Linked DNA regions of Homo sapiens: all the other regions are linked to region 1. The links are contacts of gene promoters, found by promoter capture Hi-C in blood cells and fetal thymus (Javierre and others, 2016). All regions are on one chromosome and are shown on one strand. The core of a region is centred on a gene start or on the middle of the fragment in contact, and the rest is flanking DNA. Distances in the headings are between cores, read along the strand shown. Region 1 holds the start of BRDT (bromodomain testis associated). Region 2 overlaps HFM1 (helicase for meiosis 1). Region 3 overlaps EVI5 (ecotropic viral integration site 5). Region 4 holds the start of HFM1 (helicase for meiosis 1).

Region 1 (3,220 bases), core at 379-2,878:
AAGCGATGCTCCTGCCTCAGACTCCTGAGTAGCTGGGATTACAGACCCGTGCCACCACGCCCAGCTAATTTTTGTATTTTTAGTAGAGACAGGGTTTCACCATGTTGGTCAGGCTGGTCTCGAACTCCTGACCTAGTGATCCACCCCTTCCCACCCCCACCCCCAGCCTCCCAAAGTGCTGGGATTACAGGCATGAACCACCGAGCCCAGCCTGAGATTAAGCTTTTTAAAAGATGGTTCAGAAGGCAATGTGGTGGTCTGCACCTACAGTACCTGGAGAGGCTGAGGTAGGAGGATGCTTGAGCTCAGGAGTTCGAGACTACCTTGAGTTATGATTGCATTGCTTCATTCCAGCCTGGGCCACAGAGCAAGACTCAATCTCAAAAAAATCACTCAATCTTCTTTACCTAGAGTGTACATGTCTCCCTGCCACTAATTCTCAAGAGGAAGGTCAAAAAGTTGATAGTTGGGGCAAAATTTGTACTGAGTCATTCCTCTCTTTCATTTCCCTTGACTTCTTTCAGATTTTTCATGATGTGAGAGTCACACCCTAAGTCTGTACCCATCTACTCTTTTCCTGAACAATAAGATAATCTCTATATCTAATCTCTAATCTATTAGAGTTTCACGTTGTTGCTCTGGCTGGCCTTGAAACCTTGGGATTAAGTGAGCCTTCCGCTTTAACCTCCCCAGTAACGGGCATTGCAGGCGCCTGCAGCCACACCATTAATACTACTTTAAACAGCAAAAACAAGAACACGAAAATTAAATCTAAACAAAAAGTGCTTGCCAATCCAGGTATTTATGTGACGTCTAGTAAGTAGATCAAGTGCGTTGCTTTCTTGTGAACACTTGGTTCTTTCCTGCCACATCAAAGTGATTGAATTAAGACGTGTCAAGCTGTTAATGGCCCCCAGACTTCCGCTTCAGGAAACTGGAGATCGATGGTTTTTTGGCCGGATTTGCGAGCAGCTTGTCAGCTGTTTTTGCCCTCCCCTTCCCATCCATCCACTGCGAATGAGTATTAGGAATTCAGAAGCGTTGTTTGCTATTTGATCCTAAGGGAAACTACTGTACTAAATATATTCTTCTGATACATGTTAGCACCTCTAAAGTATCTGCAAACCATCAAGAGGTAGTTGCGAAGACTCAAAATCCTAAATCACGCACTCATCAGTACGCAGCTGTTGCGAAACAGCTCTTAAATTGCCACTTTAAACCCAAAGAGAGTATGTCTCTAGCCTCAGCTGCTACCTAATATTGATCAAGCACTCACTACGTGCAAGAGACAGGAACTGTGGAGAAGGCTGGGGAAAAAAGCGTGAAAACCACGAAAACATCAGAAGCCAAAACTCAAGAACCTCTACTAGGCTAACTGATTAGTGAAAACGTCGTGTTAACAGCAAACGCCTTGAGTGTAGCGCTCCTACTCCTAACCCCCGGCTCTCTACACGGCAATCACCCGAACCCACTCTGCCTGCCCTAACAGGCCTGAGCTGCCCGGCTCAGACTCCTACACCTTTTTTGCACCGCCCGGGGCTGGGTGTGGTCACGTGACAGGTTCAGACCAATGGGCAGGCCGCCCGCGGGGGGTCTTCTATAAAAGCGCCTGTCGCGCGACCGCCATTACAACAAAAACTGGCGGCGAGGAACTGCGGAGAACTGTTGCCCTGCACCGCTTCATTTTGTGCAGCCTGAAAGGGGCAATCACATAAGGTCGGTTTTGTAATATACAGGTAACATACAGGTAATGTACCCTCCACAGGGGGTGCTGCCTTAGGCCGGCCCCGAGGTGCGGCCTTGGGTGGGAACAACCGTTTTTTCCCCCCTCTCCCCTCCCCGACCCCATCAACATCGTGCGACAGTCCGGGCAGTTGAGAAGGCCACCCCGCTTCGTGCCTGCAGCCCAGGTGAGTTGCCAGTCGCTTCCCTTTGGCCTTACCAACTTCAGGCTCGTTGCCCCCAAGGGATCTTTTTCTCTCTCTCCCTCTTTTCCCCTAAATGTCTGGTTTTTCTTCAAGGGAGGGCTGGGAAGGAGGAGGTTGGGGCGAGGGAGTGGGAGGTCCAGTTGTCCAACTGCCTCCTCCCATTTTGAAAAATACTCATGGTCTTTGTAGTTCCTCTTAGGTCTTGGACTGGTGTGGATCGCTGCTGCCTGTACTGTAATTTTGGAAATGCAGGAGAAAGTACGGAGCGTTTAGCTTTAGCTGGCATTTTGTGTTTATTCTGCAAGTGGTCATTTGGGACGGGGAAGTTCGGGTTCTTGCTTCATTTATTTATTCAATTAACTTTATTAAGCCCCTGGAACGTCTGAACCCTCTTTTGGGTACTGCAGGATTGTGGTGGGCTTTACTTCAAGGCGCGCTGGCCTGTATTAAGAATTAAGATAGAGGAGGCCGGGTGCAGTGGCTCGCCCCTGTAATCTCAGCACTTTCGGAGGCCGAGGCAAGTGGATCACCTGAGGTCAGGAGTTCAAGACCAGCCTGGCCAACATAATGAAATGCCCATCTCTACCAAAAATACAAAAATTAGCTGGGTGTGATGGCAGGCGCCTGTAGTCCCAGCTACTCGGGAGGCTGAGGCAGGAGAATCGCTTGAACCCAGGAGGCGGAAGTTGCAGTGCGCCGAGATCACGCCAGTGCACTCCAGCCTGGGCGACAGAGTGAGACTCCGTCTCCCCGCTCCCCCCAAAAAAGAAAGAGGTATGTACAGGGACTTTGGGACTCAAGGGAAAGGCCTGGGTGGATGGGAGGGAATGAGAGAGGCTCTTGGGCAGAAGTGATAACTCGTCTTGATCTTGAGGGACAAATAGAAGTTAGACTAAAAAGTGAGGAGGGAAGTTCAGGTAAAGAGAAGTTTCTCAAAGGCATGGATGTATGTACACCGAGTAGGATGTGACAGTGGATAATTGCTTTTTTTTTTTTTTTTTTTTTTTTAATACAGATAGCTGCTATGGCTGGGCGATCTCAGAGGATCGCCTGAGTCGCTCACGCCTGTAATCCCAGCACTTAGGAGGCCGAGGCGGGTGGATCACCTGAGGTCAGGAGTTTGAGACCAGCCTGGCCGACATGGCGAAACCCCATCTCTACTAAAAATAGAAAAATTAGCCGGGCATGGTGGTGGGTGCCTGTAGTCCTAGCTAGTTGGGAGGCTGAGGCAGGAGAATGGCTTGAACCCAGGAGGAAGTGGATGTGGCAGTGAGCTGAGATCGGGCCACTGC
Region 2 (3,220 bases), core at 293-2,792, 680 kb before region 1:
AACAGTTTGTGTTTTTGCACTCACTCTCGTTATTTATGTACTTACATTTTCATTCACATAAATGATCAAGTTGAAGTTCACTCAATATTTTCAGTGGTCTGCTCATAATCATTTAAAGTGCTCTATACATGGGGGAAAATGGCACTTATTGAGACTGATTTTCCCAGTGACAAAGCTGTGCCGTCTTAGGACTAGGCTACCTCAAAGGATCAGTACACATTGCCTATTAACTTGCAGTACCCAATGACACTTAAGTTTGAGGTAGGGAACAGTAGTTGTCTGGTGATAAACAAAATTGTGCCTAATGACCCCACATCATGGAGATTCTCCTGGCCTATTCTGTGAAGGTGGTCAAATCCTGTTCTTTTCAGAAGCAGTATTAGTTCTCTAGGTAATTCTAAGGGCCCCCAAAACAATAACATTTCAACTTCTAACTGCTTCCCTTTGAAATACTCTTTTAAAAACATGAGGTGGGGTATGGTAAGTGGTATCTATAATTGTGGAAATACCAGTCTGCACTGAGAAGGCTGAGGGACTGATTTATTTCTGTCAGCCCTAATGGGAGACAGTATCTCCATTGCTATCTTGTCACATACTGGCCAAGGTTTTCAATTCTCTGTTTTAGTGAAATAGAGTAAATTTGCCTTTCACTCAAAGAGCTAATAAGCCTCATTATTTTGGGGTTGTATATGATTTAAATAGAATTTCTAGTACAGGAGAAACTAATCTTTCTTTCTTATTTACTTATTTATGTATTAACTTATTTATTTACTTCAAGCTGAAAGTCCATATTTCAACTAGAAATAAAAGTTATTTTCTTTGCAAGCAGATGAATAGTTTTAAAAATGTATTTTTTTGTTCTTCACAAATATTAGCAGACCATTTGTGATCTTAGAATGGAGAACAAAATAGTCTGTTTCATGAGAGAAAATTGAATAAACAATTTGAATTTGACTTTTACAAGAGATAGGAGCAATAGAATAGAAAGTGCTCATTTGCTACATTATCATCATGGAATAACCTTGATCTCTGTTCTTAGGGGGGAAATGTTCTTTGTAGAAGAGTCACATTTTCAGTTTTGCTAAAAATTATAATCTTAACAAACCAAATCTAACTAAACAAGCACACACAACAAAGGCAAAGAAACTTAGTTCCAGGAGCTGAAATGAAAAATATTCAAAGAATTCCTAATGAAATGATTGCATGCTAAGTATGATTTTACCTGATATTTTTGTCTTCTCAGTATCAGTTGAAAAGCTAGTAACTTCTAAGTTTTCATCATCAAAATCATCCCAAACTTCATTTCCCAATTCAAAGTTCACATTCAAAACTTCTGAAAATAGAGAATTGCTTTTATCTGCATCTGTCAAATGTTGGTTTCCAGATATATTAAGATTTCTGTTGAAGAACACTGTTTGAGAGACTTTCTCATTTGAAGTTGTAGAACAGTTACATCTAGAAAAATCTGTTATGTGTATGTATAAAAGACTATAGGTACTTTTTAAACCACAAGCATCGTAGTCTATTGATATATCAAACACATCTTTCAACTACTAAACAGAGTTCTTGAGTAATAGTTTTCAAAGGCATTGTGTCAAGCATTGTTGAATACTGTATTCAGCCAATTCTATTAACTGTATAAAGTTGCACTAAATTTAATTTTCAATACATTTTTTAGGCAATTAATTTTTCCTCTTAATTCCCATATTAGAATAACTCTACTCCAAGATTGGATTATAATAGTTTCTAAAATGGTCTTCCTCCTCCAGATCTTCTCCCTAAAGTTAATTTTCAGTATTGTTATAAAAGGTATTTGTCCAAAATAAATAATATTTATTTTTCTCCTGCTAAAAAATCCTCAGTGTTATTCATTGTTTACAGCCTGGATTTAGAGCCAAATTACATAAGTGAAAATTCCACTTCTCTCATTTATTAGTTGTATGGTCTTAGACAGTAATTCAAACTTCCTGATTCTGCAAAATAAGGCAACAACAGTACCTACCTCAAAAGATTGTTATGAGGCGCTAAATGCCTTTAGTTGTACAGTTTTACACAGTATTGTGCTAATAAATGTTTAATAGCTACCTCTACAAAAAGCGTATGCTTATGTATACACATATAAGTTTATTATAATCTTTGCTGATGTAAAGGCTATACAGCACACGTTTTACAAATAACAACATATATGGTATACTTAAATGTAAATTCCATATATCTAATTGATTCTCATTGAATGTTTTCATTAAGTTTTGCCACTGTTTTATCTGTAGTCAACCTATGGCTGCAAGTGACGAATGTAGCTCTCATGTGAATGTTGTTTGATATTTTTGTTGACTCTAACAAGTAAGATGAAAATATTAATAAAACAACAAAGACATCTGTTGGGATTTCACTCATTCACCATTGACTTAAGCAACTTCTTTCCTGAATTAGATAGTAATTTTCAAATACTAGAAGAATATTCTCTCAATTTTTTGTGTTATTCACAATGTAATGGCTACAATAACAACACACATTTGTTTAATCTACAATATTAAAATTTTATCCTTCACTTTCTTAAGTCTAAAAAATAAGCAAAACAATAAATCAAACCCAGATTGGTAGTATTTGCTGATTCCTATGGTATAAATGTTCCCACCATAACTGATTTCAAGCTATTAATGTGACATAATTGAATAAGAAGTTGGGAAAAAATGCACGACAGAACCCTATAATATAGTATTTCTACCATATGGATAAATAATCTCGAGAACACAGATAAGAGTAAAATGCAGTAGAACAATTAGGAAGTGATGAGTTTTGAGTATTTTTGCCTTTGTTTTTAACATAATTTAATTGAAAGTTTATGTAATTAAATTTTCAATAATGGCTGAAAGATTCTTGAAAATTTAATAATCATCTCTCATAAGTTAGTATAAACTTGCTCCAGCATATCACTGAGTTTCCTCCACTTTAAATATCTTCTATGAATTTCTTCACCTGTCCAAACCCTTCCTTATTCTTCAACTGTACCTATAACTACAGTTCACATTACTCTACTTTTGTATGTTGATGTGCACACACTGAGACACACAATGTATATATGTACTAAAAATGGAAGTTTGTACAGAGTGCAATGGGAATGCAGAGGAAGGAGGATCTAAACCTGCAATGGAAGTAAGACATACTCTTCTAAGGTGATACCACATGACAGACAGACTCCTGAGGTGATAACATATGA
Region 3 (3,220 bases), core at 221-2,720, 690 kb after region 1:
GTAGAAATCTTCTTCAAAAGATATGCATGGTTTCCCAGCACTTTGGGAGGCCGAGGCGGGTGGATCACTTGAGGCCAGGAGTTCAAGATCAGCCTGGCCAACGTGGTGAAACCCTGTCTCTACTAAAAATACAAAAATTAGCTGGGCATGGTGGCACACGCCTGTAATCCCCGCTACTAGGGAGTGTGAGGCAGGAGAATGGCTTGAGCCCGGGAGGTGGAGGTTGCAGTAAGCCAAGATCATGCCACTGTACTCCAGCCCAGGTGACAGAGCAAGACTCTTGTCTCAAGAAAAAAAAAAAAAAAAGATATACATAGAAATAATTGCTGGAAGTAGAGAAGACGCAGATGCTGCACAAAGAAATTAACCACGGAAGCACGCAACTTTCCCATTTGCTTTCCTACTCTATAAAACATGAATATTGATGCAAACACTTAAGTCGTCATTTTTAAGCCAGTGCCCATAGAAAAGCTTCTGTACAAAAGCAATATGTAATTCATCATTATAAAATACTTTCTAAAATAAATTGTCTATCACTTCACATTTAATTTATGTAGTAAAGAAAATGTGGCAACTCAAAATTTCAAAATAAAGTCATAAAAAACAATCTTCTACTGAACTAGCATGAATAAAGCACAGTTATTTTTACTCTTTAATATGTTAGGAACAAAACAGATGTCAAATCAAAACTATTAAAAATAACCAGATGCTTAATACATGGTACTCTCCTGCCCCAGTTACCAAAAAAAGATGTGCAAATGAGGACTTTAATTCAATGCATTATACATTATTTCTTCTAGTAATTTTGATACTATTGAAACAATATTTCAATACGAGAAGTGCATCTGCAACAGACACATCATCTTAGCAAATACTTACCTTTTATCAATTAGGAAAAAGGCATTCTTTTGGAATGACCACATCCAAACTAGATGTGCCATAATTTATTTAATTAGATCACAGTTATTTCGTGGGTACTGGAAGAATTTTTTTGCCCTCAACTTAAAGCCCTGGCAACTGTAGCACAGGTTTGTTTGCAAAGACTTTATATTAGAAGATCCCCAAGAAAACATCAAACTCAAAGGCCCATATGAGAATGGAATTCTTGATTGGCATAAACCAACTAATCCAATCAAGTACAAAAAGCTATAGTAATGTTGGGCACAAATCTTTATTAATAAAATTTACAGAGAGCTGAAATGCTCTGATAACAAGTCATTCTGGATAATATATATCTTATGCTTTTTATACTCTAAAACATATTATTTTAGTCTTCTGGATTAAAATAACTCTAAACGTATTATGTAAATTTTTTTGCCACTGACAGAGTTTACAGAATATAATTCCCAGGTCATCATGATGGTGGCCAATTAACATACTGCAAATTACACAGTGTCTAAGGAAAAGATGCTGCTGTGAACTATAAATTACCTGAAGCTAACCACTGTAGTTTCAATTTATTCTATTTTCCACAGGGGGAAAACAGTTTTATAAACATGTTTTAATGTTTGACAGAAATGACAATTATGACAGCAGCTAACATCTACTCACCACTTACTATGTGCCAGACACATGTTAAGCACTTTATATTCTCCTTTAACCTTCACCACAATTACTGTCTTACTAATAAGGAAACTAATAGGGTACACCAAGGTCAAACAGCAGTTGATAGTGCTATTAATTGACAGTTTGTATTACAGAGCCCATGTTCCTCACCTTTAAGCCATATAGGTGTTGAAGAGTTTAATATATTGTTTTAATATATACTGTTCTAAAAATTAATTATATAATATTAAAAAAATCCAAACCTCTAAAAAAAATCTAAGCATATAGATCTCACATAATGTTCTTGTATTAAGAAATTCCTAGAAGAGTGCATTTCATATTCAAGTGAGTAACTTGGACAGACACACAATTTGTTTTACCAAATGACAACTGCCACAATTATGATGGCTGGCAGTCTCAGCAAGGGGAGCCGTTTATTTAAAAGCATAGAAATGACAGATGACTTCTCTATACTTACATCAAGTTAATTTATGTAAATGAATCTCATAATGTTTCTGTGATACCAGCAATCCCATTCCAATGAAACTGACAGAAATTCTTTTTAGTAAGCAGAGTCTGCTTTTCAATCCTATGTGCTTTTCTGGTGTTGCAAAAATTACAAAGGTAAAGGTAAGTTAGAAAGTCCTCAGTAATCCTTTTTGCTTGTGTCTTGAGCTTAAAAAAAAATCTTCAATATTTGAAGGAAATAGGAGTAATACAGTAAAAAGTAAATATTTGTATTGGGGGAAGTTTCTCATATTATTAAAAAAAATTTCAATATTTGAAGGAAATAGGAGTAATACAGTAAAAAGTAAATATTTGTATTGGGGGAAGTTTCTCATATTATTAAGTGAAAAAAAATTGAAATTAGAAAAAGGGTTGTCCATGCAAATGTATCCAATATTGCTTGAATTTAAGTATACATTAAGCTTTTAACTAAGTTCAAGATATGACATTTATATGCTCTTTTCAGGAACCCAAACATTTCATGGAACCCTGTTCTCATCTCTTTTGTAACACTTATCACAACTCTAAATAAAAAATTGTGCATGCTGCCCAAAGTAATTATAGATTCAATGCTATTCCCATCAAACTACCATTGACATTCTTCACAGAATTAGAAAAAAACTACTTTAAATTTCATATGGAACCAAAGAAGAGCCTGTATAGCCAAGACAATCCTAAGCAAAAAGAACAAAGCTGGAGGCATCACGCTACCTGACTTCAAACTATACTACAAGGCTACAGTAACCCAACAGCATGGTACTGGTACCAAAAAGACATATAAACCAATGGAACAAAACAGAGACCTGAGAAATAACACCGTACTTCTACAACCATCTGATCTTCAACAAACCCGACAAAAGCAATGGGGAAAGGATCTCCTATTCAATAAATGGTGCTTGGAAAACTGGCTAGCCATATGCAGCAAACTGAAACCGGATCCCTTCCTCACATGTTATACAAAAATTTACTCAAGATGGATTGAAGACTTAAATGTAAAACCCCAAACCATAAAAACCCTAGAAGAAAACCTAGGCAATACCATTCAGGACATAGGCATGGGCAAAGACTTCATGTCTAAAACACCAAAAGCAATTGTAACAAAAGCCAAAACTGACAAATGGGATCTAATTAAAGAGCTTCTGCACAGCAAAAGAAACTATCATCAGAG
Region 4 (3,220 bases), core at 407-2,906, 540 kb before region 1:
GCAGGGACTTTTTGCTCATTAATGTGTTCCAATAACCCAGAATAGTGCCTGGCACACAGTAAATGGTCCATAAGAATGCATTGTGGAATAAATGCATTAGCAAGAACCAGTTTATAAAAATAGTGTCAAATAAAAATAATTTTCTGTTAATTTAGAAACTTAAAATTTGAGCCCCAATCTTCAACGTTCAGTTAAAAAATGTGAAATTTTTTTCTAGTTCAGGATTTATGTAAATAAAATCATGAAGGTTCTAAAAGATGATGAATTTGGCACTTTCATTATGTAAATCTTTTTTTAAAAAAGAAACACAGGTCCTAAAAGGGACCTTGCTACAGTTCAGTATGAGTTTGTGATGTGAGGGGATGCTATTTTAAATTAATTAAAGTTCTAGGTTTAGATTCAGATTTTTTAAGTTCCTATTATTTATTATTAAAGTTTTAGTTTCAGCACGTGGCACAAAATTAGATTGCCAAACACAATAAACAATATCATCCCAGGTAGTTTTAAGTGTCTGCTCTGCTATAATCACTGTTAAAATACTTAAGCTATTTTTGAGTCTACATAATTTGCGGTGCCGACCTTCTCTAGTTATATTAATGACAATCTCTAGTTAAATATTAATACAACTAGATACAATTAATCTTTAGTTATATTAATGACAATTCACCATTTTGTCTTCTGTAATCTTTACTTATTGTATAAAATTATTGTATACAATTATTGTATAAACTTATTGTATAAAATTGCAGGCCTATTACTTCTTACAATTTTTACTCAGAAACATACTCCTTATTTTAAAAGTACAGAAACTCAGATAAAAATTATTGATTTGCTAGAAATTTTTGTGAGTTAAGGAAGAAGTAGGGACCAACATTTACGGGAATAACCGACCGTCACAAATAACTGCAGAGAATCTGACAAAGAAGGAAAAATCAACGGGAACAAATTACTCCGAGGCTCGGCCTGGGAAAGGACCATACAATTGTCGGAGCCCCAGATCTCACCCCCTCTCCCCAGGCACCAACAGGGCTGGCTGGAAGGGTCCGGCTGGGGACCGAATCAGCACCTAAAGCAAAATAACAGCTCTGTGGATTTCCTAAGGAGAATATCCTAAATCCAAGGCAGAGGCCTTAGGGCCCCGAGAGTGGCACAAGAACGGGGCGCTGGGGCGCGTCACTCCACCCCCCGGGTCCCGTTTCCTCCCACCGCTGTGAAACCCGCGGCTCAGACAGATGGGTACGTCCCCCCCAGCGCTCGCTCAGGGGGCGCCACACACCGGAACACAAGACACAGGAACCGAACACCAATCAGCCGACTTTAGGGGCGGGCCGGACGCCCAGCCGGTCCCACCTCGCGGGGAGCTGGGCCCGCCCTGCGCCCGAGCGCGCCGCAGGCCTCACCGCTTTCTGACTGGAAATGCGGCTGAGGCGCTGGCGCGGGCCGGCGGCCTGGAGACGCCTGGTGACCAACAACTCGCCGCGCCCGTCCGCTGCCTGCCCGGCAGACGGCTCTAGAGATCGACCGCTGCCCGGACGGCTCGGCTGGGTCCCCACTTCCCCGCGGGCGTCGGGCCCCCGTCCCCACCTTCCCCGCGGGCGTCCGGGCCCCTCTCCTCACCTCCCTGCGGACAGCTCCTAGGCCAGTCGAGCGCCGATTTATCAGCCCCTCTGAGGACCGCCAAGCCTGGCTAAGCCGAGCTCCAAGCAATGGATCGCCCAAGCCCCCAACCTCTCCCTTCCTACCTTTTTTTCTCCGAAAGTTTATAACTGGTTTTGAATATATCTCTTGCAGTTTACTGTGTCTATTCTCTTTAAATACAGCTCCTAATCCTGGGTTCTAAGGGTCTACTAAATGGTACCCTTTCCCTAAGCTAACCTGCTTCTCTACCCCCACAACCACCACTCCACAAACATACCCCAACCTGCCTTTCTCATCAAAGTTAGCCAGGCCTCAGCTCTGGGACTTCCGGTCTCTTCGTACCTAAAAAGTGTTTTACCTATATTATTTATAAAATATCACAGTGGCACTCATGAGGTCGGTATTACTGGGGAACTTGATTCAGAAATAAAGTTAAATTTCAGAAATAAATATTCTAAAACACAATGATATTTAAATGTGTTTAGCCAACATGAATTTATAAAAACAGGGCAATAATGTGTTCTTAGGCTGTAAACATGAACAAACTATAAATTATCCTTTTAAGTTTCTTTAGAATTGTCCTCTGAAGATTTGGCAGGGAATGTTTTGTAGATGATAAAATAGCAACGAATCAATGATGCTTTTCTTACAGAGACATTTATCTTTCCTTTGGAAACCCCCACCTGTGACATCTAGGGCCAACCTACTGCTGTCTGACTGCCCTATTCCTGTTCTCTTTTTTCTTGCAGTTCTACTGTTCATTAGCTATATGACCTTGGAAAAGACCCAACCTTTAAGTCTTAATTCTGCATCCTCAGTGATACTCATAAGCTCTAACTCCTAGATACTGCTGCAAGGGTTAAATAAAATAATATTTGCAGTAGTCCTACCACACAGTAAATGCTCATGAATATTAATTTCTTTCACCTTCTCTGAAATGTAAAATTATTCCAGTAATTGGGTGAGCCAGTTATTTGGATACTGATAAAATAACAAGTCTTTGTCTCTTGGAGAAAATAACATTTTGACTGCATAAACTATTCTTAATAGAAAGGTTGAATTATCATTCCTCTCAAAAATACTGGAGAGGAAAGTTACTTTCCATAGACTGCATAGAGGAAAATAACGAAACAGTGCATTTGTTATAGTGAACCCCTCAATGTGTTGAAATTCATACATTGAATTCTAACCCCCGATGTGATGATATTTGAACGTGGGACTTTTGTGAGGTAATTAACTCAAAAGGGTAGAGCCTTCATGAGTAGGATTGTGCCCTTTTAAGAGGCCAGAGAGTTAGCTCGCTCTTTTCCTACCATGTGAGGATACAGGAGGACGGTATCTGCAAGCCAGGAAGGAGGCCCTCGCCAAATACCGGATCTGCCTGCACTGTGATCTTGGACTTCTCAGGCACCAAAATTGTGACAAATGTTTGTTGTTTAAGCCACCCAGCCTATGGTAATTTGTTATAGCAGCTTGAACTAAGATAGGGTTTGAGTGATAGAATTGTAGAATTCAGCAACAGGCAGGTACAGGGGAGTCTTACTGTCAAAGCACACAGTAGCAAATGGCCACCATGTTCATA

Evidence for each region. The method cuts DNA at HindIII sites, captures the fragments that hold promoters and counts their contacts. A CHiCAGO score of 5 or more calls a contact.
Region 2: a contact is called between a fragment that was not itself captured here and the fragment with the promoter of BRDT in region 1, in 1 of 17 cell types (total B cells). The highest score is 5.6, in total B cells.
Region 3: a fragment that was not itself captured here is called in contact with the fragment with the promoter of BRDT in region 1 in 1 of 17 cell types (fetal thymus); the score reaches 5.9 in fetal thymus.
Region 4: the fragment with the promoter of HFM1 here is called in contact with the fragment with the promoter of BRDT in region 1 in 1 of 17 cell types (monocytes); the score reaches 5.8 in monocytes.

What each region holds. Positions count from the first base shown.
Region 1 is chr1:91,947,773-91,950,992 of GRCh38, forward strand. BRDT (bromodomain testis associated) reads left to right here and starts at 1,629. Exons shown (of 19, transcript NM_207189.4): 1 at 1,629-1,910. The HindIII fragment of the contact is 8,652 bases long and covers 221-3,220 here.
Region 2 is chr1:91,266,523-91,269,742 of GRCh38, forward strand. HFM1 (helicase for meiosis 1) reads right to left here. Exons shown (of 39, transcript NM_001017975.6): 35 at 1,223-1,333. Among named protein-coding and RNA genes, the nearest start is that of HFM1, 140 kb to the right of the region's middle. The HindIII fragment of the contact is 3,810 bases long and covers 1-3,220 here.
Region 3 is chr1:92,637,092-92,640,311 of GRCh38, forward strand. All of the region lies in intron 13 of EVI5 (ecotropic viral integration site 5), which reads right to left. Among named protein-coding and RNA genes, the nearest start is that of EVI5, 150 kb to the right of the region's middle. The HindIII fragment of the contact is 2,003 bases long and covers 470-2,472 here.
Region 4 is chr1:91,403,181-91,406,400 of GRCh38, forward strand. HFM1 (helicase for meiosis 1) reads right to left here and starts at 1,657. Exons shown (of 39, transcript NM_001017975.6): 1 at 1,618-1,657. RefSeq lists a silencer at 1,252-1,631. The HindIII fragment of the contact is 14,376 bases long and covers 1-3,220 here.